Linked DNA regions of Homo sapiens: region 1 is linked to region 2. The links are contacts of gene promoters, found by promoter capture Hi-C in human tissues and cell types (Jung and others, 2019). All regions are on one chromosome and are shown on one strand. The core of a region is centred on a gene start or on the middle of the fragment in contact, and the rest is flanking DNA. Distances in the headings are between cores, read along the strand shown. Region 1 overlaps EPB41 (erythrocyte membrane protein band 4.1). Region 2 holds the start of SESN2 (sestrin 2).

Region 1 (4,265 bases), core at 1,309-3,808, 670 kb after region 2:
CCACCGTGCCCCGCCAGTTTTAAAATTTTTTCTTAGAGACAGGATTTTTTTTTTTTTTTTTTCGAGATTGAGTCTCACTCTGTTGCTCAGGCTGTAGTGCAGTGGCGCGATCTCGGCTCACTGCAACCTCTGCCTCCCGGGTTCAAGCAATTCTTCTGCCTCAGCCTCCCAAGTACCTGGGACTATAGGTGTGTGCTACCATGCCCGGCTAATTTTTGTATTTTTTAGTAGAGTCGGGGTTTCACCATATTGGCCAGGCTGGTCTCAAACTCCTGACCTCATGATCCGCCTGCCTCGGCCTCCCAAAGTGCTGGAATTACAGGTGTGAGCCATTGTGCCCAGGCTGAGATGATCTTATGATATTGCCCAGCCTGGTCTCAAGAGATCCTCCTGACTTGGCCTCCCAAAGTGTTGGGATTATAGGTGTGAGCCAACACACTCAGCCGTGATGCACTGTTTGATTCTGATAATCAGGTATGTGTAATTAGCCTTAAACCTTTTTCTTCCTTCTTTCCTTTCTTTTCTTTTCTTTTTTTTTTTTTTTTTTTGAGATGGAGTCTCACTCTGTCACCCAGGCTGGAGTGCAGTGATGGGATCTCAGCTCCCGGATTCAAGCGATTCTCCTGCCTCAGCCTCCCAAGTAGCTGGGATTACAGGCGTGTGCCACCACACCTGGCTAATTTTTGTATTTTAGTAGAGACAGGGTTTCACTATGTTGGTCAGGCTGGTCTCGAACTCCTGACCTCAGGTAATCTACCCGCCTCGGCCTCCCAAAGTGCTGGGATTAGAGGTGTGAGCCACTGCGCTTGGCAACCTTTTTATTTCTTAACGGTAGATTGATATATCCTCTAGCTTACTAAGTAACCTTTGAATTTTTATTATTTCTTTAATTGTAATATAAAAAGCTGATCTTTTATTAAGTGCCATTCCGTCTCCTAAAGATGATGCCTATAATGATTAAATAGTAAAGGTCAGTGTCATCTACTTAGCAAGATTTACCCAGTAAGTCTTTTTTTCTCCAGATGCTATTTTTGTTGACTTATCCTTGCTAGTTGTATTATCTCTAATATGACCATTAATGGACACTGGTTAACAAGATATGTTCAATATTTAATGTATTCTCTTTGGTATTTTGTAAGATGGAAAAGACTAGCATTGGGATGAATAATTGCATAATGATCATAGAATCATATTTAAATAAATATACCAAAGAATATATAACTAAAGGGCAAGTTTTTTTGTTTTATGTTTTTAAATTTTTATCATGCGTACTGTGGTAGGCAGCCTTTATTATGGCCCCCAATTATCCCTCCCTCCTGGTATGCATACCCTTAGTGTAATTTCCTCCCCTTGAGTGGGGGCTATTGAATAGAATACAGCAAAAGTGATGGGATGTCACTTCTAAGATTAGGTTATAAAATACTGTGGCTTCTCTCTTGGGATTCTGGCTTTCTCCCTCTCCCTGGGACCACTAGCTACCATATCCTGAGAACACTCAGGCAGTCTGTAGTGATGTCCATGTGGTTAAAAACGAGGTCTGTCAGTAAACTTGGATGCAGATCTTCGGTGTGAGTGATCTTGGAAGCAGATTCTCCAGGCAGAGTTGAGCCTAGAGGTGAATGCAAATGCAGTAGACAGCTTTACTACAACTTCATGAAAGCCCCTGGCCGGGTGCGTGGCTCATGCCTGTAATCCCAACACTTTGGGAGGCCAAGGTGGGTGGATCACCTGAGGTCAGGAACTCGAGACCTGCCTTGCCAACATGGCGAAACCCCGTCTCTACTAAAAATAGAAGAATTACCTGGGTGTGGTGGTGTGCACCTGTAGTCCCAGCTACTTGGGAGGTTGAGGCAGGATAATCGCTTGATCCTGAGAGGTGGCGGTTGTAGTGAGCTGAGATCGTGCCACTGCACTCCAGCTCTGGGTGACAGAGCGAGACTACATCTCAAAAAAAAAATAAAAAAGACCCCAAGCCAGAGTCACCTAGCTAAGTCATGCCTGGATTCTTCATCCACAGAAACTGTGCAATAATAAATGTTTGCTGTTTTAAGCCACCATGTTTTGGAGGGTAATTTATTGTAAAGTAATAGATAACTAAAACATCTACCACTTATTCATGTAATAAATACTTATTGATTGTTCACTATTTACAAGGCACTATCATAAGTACATTGGGACATAGCAGTGAATAAAATAGAGGTATCTGTTCTTGTGCAGCTTATTTCTTTTTCTGGGACAGGGTCTTGCACTGTCACCCAGGCTGGAGTGCAGTGGTGTGGTCACAGCTCACTGCAGCCTCAACCTCCTGGGCTCAAGCAGTCCTCCCACCTCAGCCTCCTGAGGAGCTGAGACTACAGGCACACACCACTATGCCTGGCTAACTTTTTTTTTTTTTTTTTTTGAGATGGAGTCTCGCTCTGTCACCCAGGCTGGAGTGCAGTAGCGCGATCTCGGCTCACTGCAACCTCCGTCTCCCAGGTTCAAGCTTTTCCCCCGCCTCAGCCTCCTGAGTAGCTGGGACTACAAGCACCCACCACCATGCCCGGCTAATTTTTTATTTTTAGTAGAGGCAGGGTTTCACCATATTGGCCAGGCTGGTCCCGAACTCCTGACCTTGTGATCCGCCCACCTCGGCCTCTCAAAATGCTGGGATTACAGGCGTGAGCCACCGCGCCTGGCCATTCTGGCTAATTTTTAAATGAAATTTTTTGTAGGGATGGGGTCTCCATATGTTGCCCATTTTGGTCTTGAACTCCTGGGCTCAAGTAGTCTCTTGCCTTGGCCTCCTAAAGTGTTGGGATTATAGTCATGAGCCACCACACCCAGCCTGGAGCTTACATTTTAGTGGTAGGGGATAAATAATAAATGTATAAATCAGGGATAGAACATAAGACATCAGATTTTAGTGAGGATCAGGGAAAGTAGAATGGGAGACAGTGAGGCAGGTGGGGTGTACATTTTAGATAAGGGTGATACTTCTGATAAGGTGACATTGGAGCAGAGTCCTAAATGGAGTAAGACAGTGAGCTGTGCAGGTATCTGGGGAAGAGCATCCCAGGCAGAAGGAACAAAATGCACAAAAGTTAAGCGGGTTTGGTGTGTATGAGAAACATTGATCCAGCATGTTGGGTCAAAATGATCTAGGGAAAAGTAGCAGGAGTTTAATTCAGAGAGGTCATAGGTAGGAGAAGGAGCAAATCATTGTAGTGCCTTATTGCCTGTGTTAATGACTTCGCATTTTATTTGGAGACGGGAGTTCTTGGGAGGATTTTGAGCAGAGGAATGGCACGATCCTTCATTTAGTACATGTTAAGTGAGCAGGACTCTGTTTATATATGTGATCACAAAAATATAAAAGATGGGGCTCATGCCTGTAATCCCAGCATTTTGGGAGGCCGATGTGGGAGGATTGTTTGAGCCCAGGAGTTTGAGACTAGCCTGGGCAACATAGAGAGACCCTTGTCTCAAAAAAAAATTATAGGCCAGATGCAGTGGCTCACACCTGTAATCCCAGCACTTTGGGAGGCCGAGGCAGGTGGATCACCTGAAGTCAGAAGTTCGAGGCCAGCCTGGCCAAACATGGTGAAATCCCATCTCTACTAAAAAAAAAAAAAAATACAAAAATTACAATTCAAGATGAGATCTGGGTGGGGCTACAGAGCCAAACCATATCACCTCACTTCTAATCATTCTGTAATGTAGGTATGATACAAATACATATCTTTTAAGGTTATTTTGATGATTAAATGGATTAGAACAGTGCCCAGCACCAGATAAATGTTACCCATTATTATTTTTGCATTTAATCTTCACCACAGCTCTTTGGAGTAGGTATTAACCAGGCCAAAAGTTAAGTAACTTGTCCAAAGTTACACAACTAGCAAGCGAAAATTCGCTTCAAAGCCAGTATTTTTTACGACTATACCTTTACTTATGTCCATGAGTGGGTGGGGAAGGAGAGATTTGGATCTTCTGTCAAAGCCAATGATTTCTTACTAATTGTGATCTTGTGAAAGTACTTTTCCACACCTCAGTTTCTTCTGTAGAATGAGCATAATACTCACATTGCAGATAATCTATAGAATAACTAATAAAAACAAACCTTGTAGTGTGCCTGTCAGAGGTACTCAATAAATGTTAGTTCCCTTTTCCCTTTGATAAAATCTGACCTCATGGAGATGGGAGAGAATAATCTTGCAATGAGAATAATTTTTACCTCTTGACTTATGCATTTTTCTACTTAAATTGGATGTCTGTCTAATGCT
Region 2 (4,597 bases), core at 1,779-4,278:
TGGGTGAGATTACTTTCAGCTGAGCTTTTTGGAGGAGGTGTCATTTAAAGTCTTGCTTCAGGCCACAAACAGGAATGAAGGCATTGAATGATGGATACTATTTCAATGGGTAGAGATTTGCAAGAAGAGTACTGAAAGAAAGATTTGAAGGCCAAACAAGAAACATGGATGTTGCAGGTGGTAAGAATGGGAGGGTAAATTAGGTGCATCTTGGCAAACCTTGAATGTTAAGATAGGAGTTTGATTTTTTTTTTTTTTTTTTTTGAGACAGGGTTTCGCTCTGACACCCAGATCGTGCAGTGGCACGATCTCAGCTCACTGCAACCTCTGCCTCCCGGGTTCAAGCGATTCTCCTGCCTCAGCTTTTCGAGTAGTTGGGACTACAGGCGTGCACCACCACGCTTGGCTAATTTTTGTATATTTAGTAGAGATGGGGTTTCACGATGTTGGCCAGGATGATCTTGAACTCCTGACCTCAGGTGATCTGCCTGCCTTTGCCTCCCAAAGTGCTGGGATCACAGGCGTGAGCCACCATGCCCACCCAAGGAGTTTGATCTTAATTCTGTAGCTGATGAAATACCAGTGAAGCCTTTTGATCTGGACTTTGACATTACATAGTAAATTTTTTTTTTTTTTTGAGACAGAATCTCACTCTGTCACCCAGGCTAGAGTGCAGTGGCACGATCTCGGCTCACTGCAAGCTCTGCCTCCTGGGTTCACGCCATTCTCCTGCCTCAGCCTCCCAAGTAGCTGGGACTACAGGCACCCGCCACCACGCCTGGCTAATTTTTTGTATTTTTAGTAGAGACGGGGTTTCACCATGTTAGCCAGGATGGTCTTGATCTGACCTCGTGATCCGCCCACCTCGGCCTCCCAAAGTGCTGGGATTACAGGCGTGAGCCACCACGCCTGGCCACATAGTAAATTTTTTAAATGAAAGCTGAAGCTGACACAGGGTAGTTTAGAGAGGAAGTTGATGCAAAGGAAGATTCCGTGACCAAGGGCATATGATTGTCAGGACATTTTGCTAGGTGACATAGAGCAGGAGATGGATGTCAAGATGTAGACCCTGCCAGCCAGGCGCGGTGGCTCATGCCTATAATGCCAGCACTTTGGGAGGCTGAGGCGGGCAGAGCACAAGGTCAGGAGTTCGAGACCAGCCTGATCAACATGGTGAAACCCTGTCTCCACTAAAAATACAAAAATTAGCCGGGTGTGGTGGCACTTGCCTGTAATCCCAGCTACTCAGGAGGCTGAGGCAGGAGAATTGCTTGAACCTGGGAGGCAGAGGTTGCAGTGAGCCAAGATCGGGCCACTGCACTCCAGCCTGGGAGACAGAGTGCGACTCTGTTTAAAAAAAAAAAAAAAAAAAAAAAAAAGATGTTGACCCTGCCCTCAAGGAGTTTACAATTAAAAAGATCAGATAAGCCAGACTCAGTGGTGCACACCTGTAACCCCAGTGATTGATTTGGGGGGCTGAGGAGGGAATATCGCTTGAGCCCAGGAATTTGAAGCTGCAGCGTGCTATGATCATGCCACTGTACTCCAGTCTGGGTGACAGAGCTAGACCCCATCTCTAAAAAACAATACTAATAAAAAGAAAAAAGGGTCAGATAAAACATGTACATAGAAAATTACAATACAAGGCAGAATGTGGCTGGACATGGTGGCTCATGCCTATAATCCTAGCACTTTGGGAGGCTGAGGTGAGAGAATCGCTTGAGCTCAGGAGTTTGAGACCAGCCTGGGCAACATATTGAGACCCTGTCTCTATTTACTAAAAAACAAAAAACAAAAACAAAAAAACAGAAAACAAAAAAACAAAAAACAAAAAAAACTAGGTAGAATGTGATACATGTGAAAAGAGATCCAGCTCAAGTGCCTTGGGAGCTCAGGGGAGGGTGAGATTAATCTCTTTTTCCCAAGAATCTGGAGGCAGGAAACCAAGTCGGTTTCATCTTTGGAATTGTAAGCTTAGACTTAGAAGTCTCAGAGGGGGACTTGGGGGTCTTATCCACCCTCACCCCTGGCAGGATTCCCTGTCTAGAATAAACAATAACTTTAAAATGGAAACAAAAAAAGGAGCTCTGAAGGAAAACTGTGAAGGAAGAGGCTCCGTTTGAAATGAATAGAAAATGAATTTAGCTTGGAGGTGCTGAGGTGTTGGTAGAGGCAACTTTCTGGCAAGAGGCGAGTTGAAGGCCAGGAAGTGAATGAGATCAGGGAGAGTGTCTGGAGGGAAGAGGGGCAAAAACAAACTGGGGAAGCACCCACGTTTTAGGAAGTGGGTGGTGAAAGAGGAGTCAGAGAAGGCCAGAGGGAGAGGTGAGCAAAGATCCAGCAGAACACCTTGTTACAAAGTTTCGAGGAGGGTGGGAGGGGTGGAAGCCAGGACGGGTAGCAGAAGGAAGAAAACTTCCAGCAATAGGGATTGAGGTTCCACACGAAGTTACCAATGACATTTCAAGGAATGAAGGCTTTTCCTGAGGCTCCACAAATAAGGTGAATTCCCTGTGTCTCGCATCTTTGGAGCTTCCCCGAGGCCAGGGGGAGCAGGGTTGTGCCCTCTGACCTCTAAATATCTGGGGTTCAGTTCTATAATTAGCAGCACCGGATAGGACGCGAGCCAAACCTCTCTTAACCCTAGCCAGTCCCTCCAGGAACTGAAAAGATGAAGAATTCATTTAGGAGATTTCACACTCGGCTGTTTGGCCTAGCCCAGTGAAGTCCCTTTTCATCACGCAACCCTAATGACTCTTAGGGCTGTCACTGCCGTCTGGTGTTGCCAGGGATCTGACTAAACCGTCTTGCAAAAGTTTGCAGCATTCACCCGAGGCGGACTACAACTCCCAGAATTCCGGGCGCTCCCCGGTGCTGATTGGCGGAGCCCGTGACTCCAGGGGGCGGAGTTTCCCCCGCCTCCCCGGGGAAACAGACCTCTGATTGGCTGGACCGCCGGGCTTTTGTGTCCCCGCCCTCCCCCGGGGACCGCAGCGGGCTGAACTGCTGGTGTCAGAGCCCGGCGAGCGCTGGCAGTTCCGCGGCGGGGATGCTGAGGAGCGCTGGGTCCGGGAGCAGCCCTGGCCCCTGCGGACTTCCGAGGCCGTGAAAACCCCTGCGCTGCGGCCCTTCCCAGGCCCCCGAGGCCGTTCGCCGTTCCCGAAGCCCGACTGGGGGAAGAGTCCAGCACCAAAGCGGCCGTTCTCGGATTCCGGAGCGTTCTGGAGCCCCGAGAGACGCCCCGGGGTTCTAGAAGCTCCCCGGCGGCGCCCAGTCCCGGCTTCATTCGGGCGTCCCTCCGAAACCCACTCGGGTGCACGGGTCGTCGGCGAGCCGCGACCGGGTCCTGGCGCGCACCATGATCGTGGCGGACTCCGAGTGCCGCGCAGAGCTCAAGGACTACCTGCGGTTCGCCCCGGGCGGCGTCGGCGACTCGGGCCCCGGAGAGGTAAGCGGCGGCCGCGCGACGCCCCTCTTCCCTGGAACCCCGAACCGCGTCTGAGCCTCAGGCTGTCCGGAGCTGAGTCGGTGTGTCCTGGGCTCGGGGAGGGAAAGCCGAGCGCGTAACCCGGGACCCGGGTTGCATCAACTGGCAGCCGCGGCCCTCGGCACCCCTCCCCCACTCTGTCTCCCCTCTCCCTCCTTCTCCCCCTCCCTCTCCCCCTCCTCCCTCCCTCTCCCCCTCTCCCTCACCGCCCCACCCCAGGGCCGCGGATCCTTCCTCGGCTCCCTCGGACTCCTGGCCAATGAGGGAGAAGCCTTCTGGAGGCTCTCCGAGCTTTGGGCTCCTGAGCGTCTTCAAGTCCAGGCAAATCCCGGCCGGAGCGGCCAGACCACTCCTCCTCCCCGCCCCCTTCCGCGGAGTCCCTTCCTCTTCGCGGGGGCCGGCGGGCAGAGGACCCTTCCTGGGGTGCCTCCCGGCTCCTGTCCCCCAGCGCGGGGCGTAGGCACCTGGGACTGGCCAGTGAAAGTCGACCTCATCCTATGTCCACCGCACTCCTGCTTTGGAGGGAGAGCGCAGGGGCTCTGGGGGCTTGGCGGGCCGCCCGGTACGCGGCGGCGGCAGCCAAAGCTGGGGGGAGAGGGGACAACCCTGGTCGCGGCTTCCGAAGCCAAGCGCGGGTTAGGCTGCGCCCTGCTAAGTAAGTGGTCTGAAGGCCCAGAAGTTTGTTTTCCAGAAATTCCTCCCCCACCCTCCCTTCGCGCCGCTCCCCTCCACCCCCCCGCATTCGCATCCCGGCATAGCCCGCAGGGGCTTTGCAGGGAGACCGGGAATTAGGCTGGACCTAACCAGACTGACAGTTCGCACTCCCCCACCACTACCAGCAGCAGCGATAATGGACATCTTATCATTTATTATGCACCTACTAGATACCAGGCTCTGAGTTTTTTTCGCCTTTAACCTAAGTCCTCAGGACTAAACCAGCAATACAAGCTACGCTATAGCCCCATTTTACAGGAAGAACATTGAGGCCCACGATGGGCTCAGAAAGAGGCTTTCTTCATTAACCCCACTGAATATCTTGTTCTTTGGCCTTATGATTTCGGAGATTGCACGGCACTAGGAGCTTCTAGTTGCTTTAGTTTACAGGCCTAG

Evidence for each region. The method cuts DNA at HindIII sites, captures the fragments that hold promoters and counts their contacts. A contact is called where the count stands out against the background at its distance.
Region 1: a contact is called between a fragment that was not itself captured here and the fragment with the promoter of SESN2 in region 2, in 1 of the 25 tissues and cell types used here (spleen).

What each region holds. Positions count from the first base shown.
Region 1 is chr1:28,922,583-28,926,847 of GRCh38, forward strand. The region is part of intron 1 of EPB41 (erythrocyte membrane protein band 4.1); the gene reads left to right. Among named protein-coding and RNA genes, the nearest start is that of EPB41, 10 kb to the left of the region's middle. The HindIII fragment of the contact is 3,394 bases long and covers 862-4,255 here.
Region 2 is chr1:28,256,490-28,261,086 of GRCh38, forward strand. SESN2 (sestrin 2) reads left to right here and starts at 3,029. Exons shown (of 10, transcript NM_031459.5): 1 at 3,029-3,448. The coding sequence starts at 3,359. RefSeq lists enhancers at 2,600-2,779, 2,772-3,620 and silencers at 2,890-3,099, 3,880-3,939. The HindIII fragment of the contact is 10,821 bases long and covers 456-4,597 here.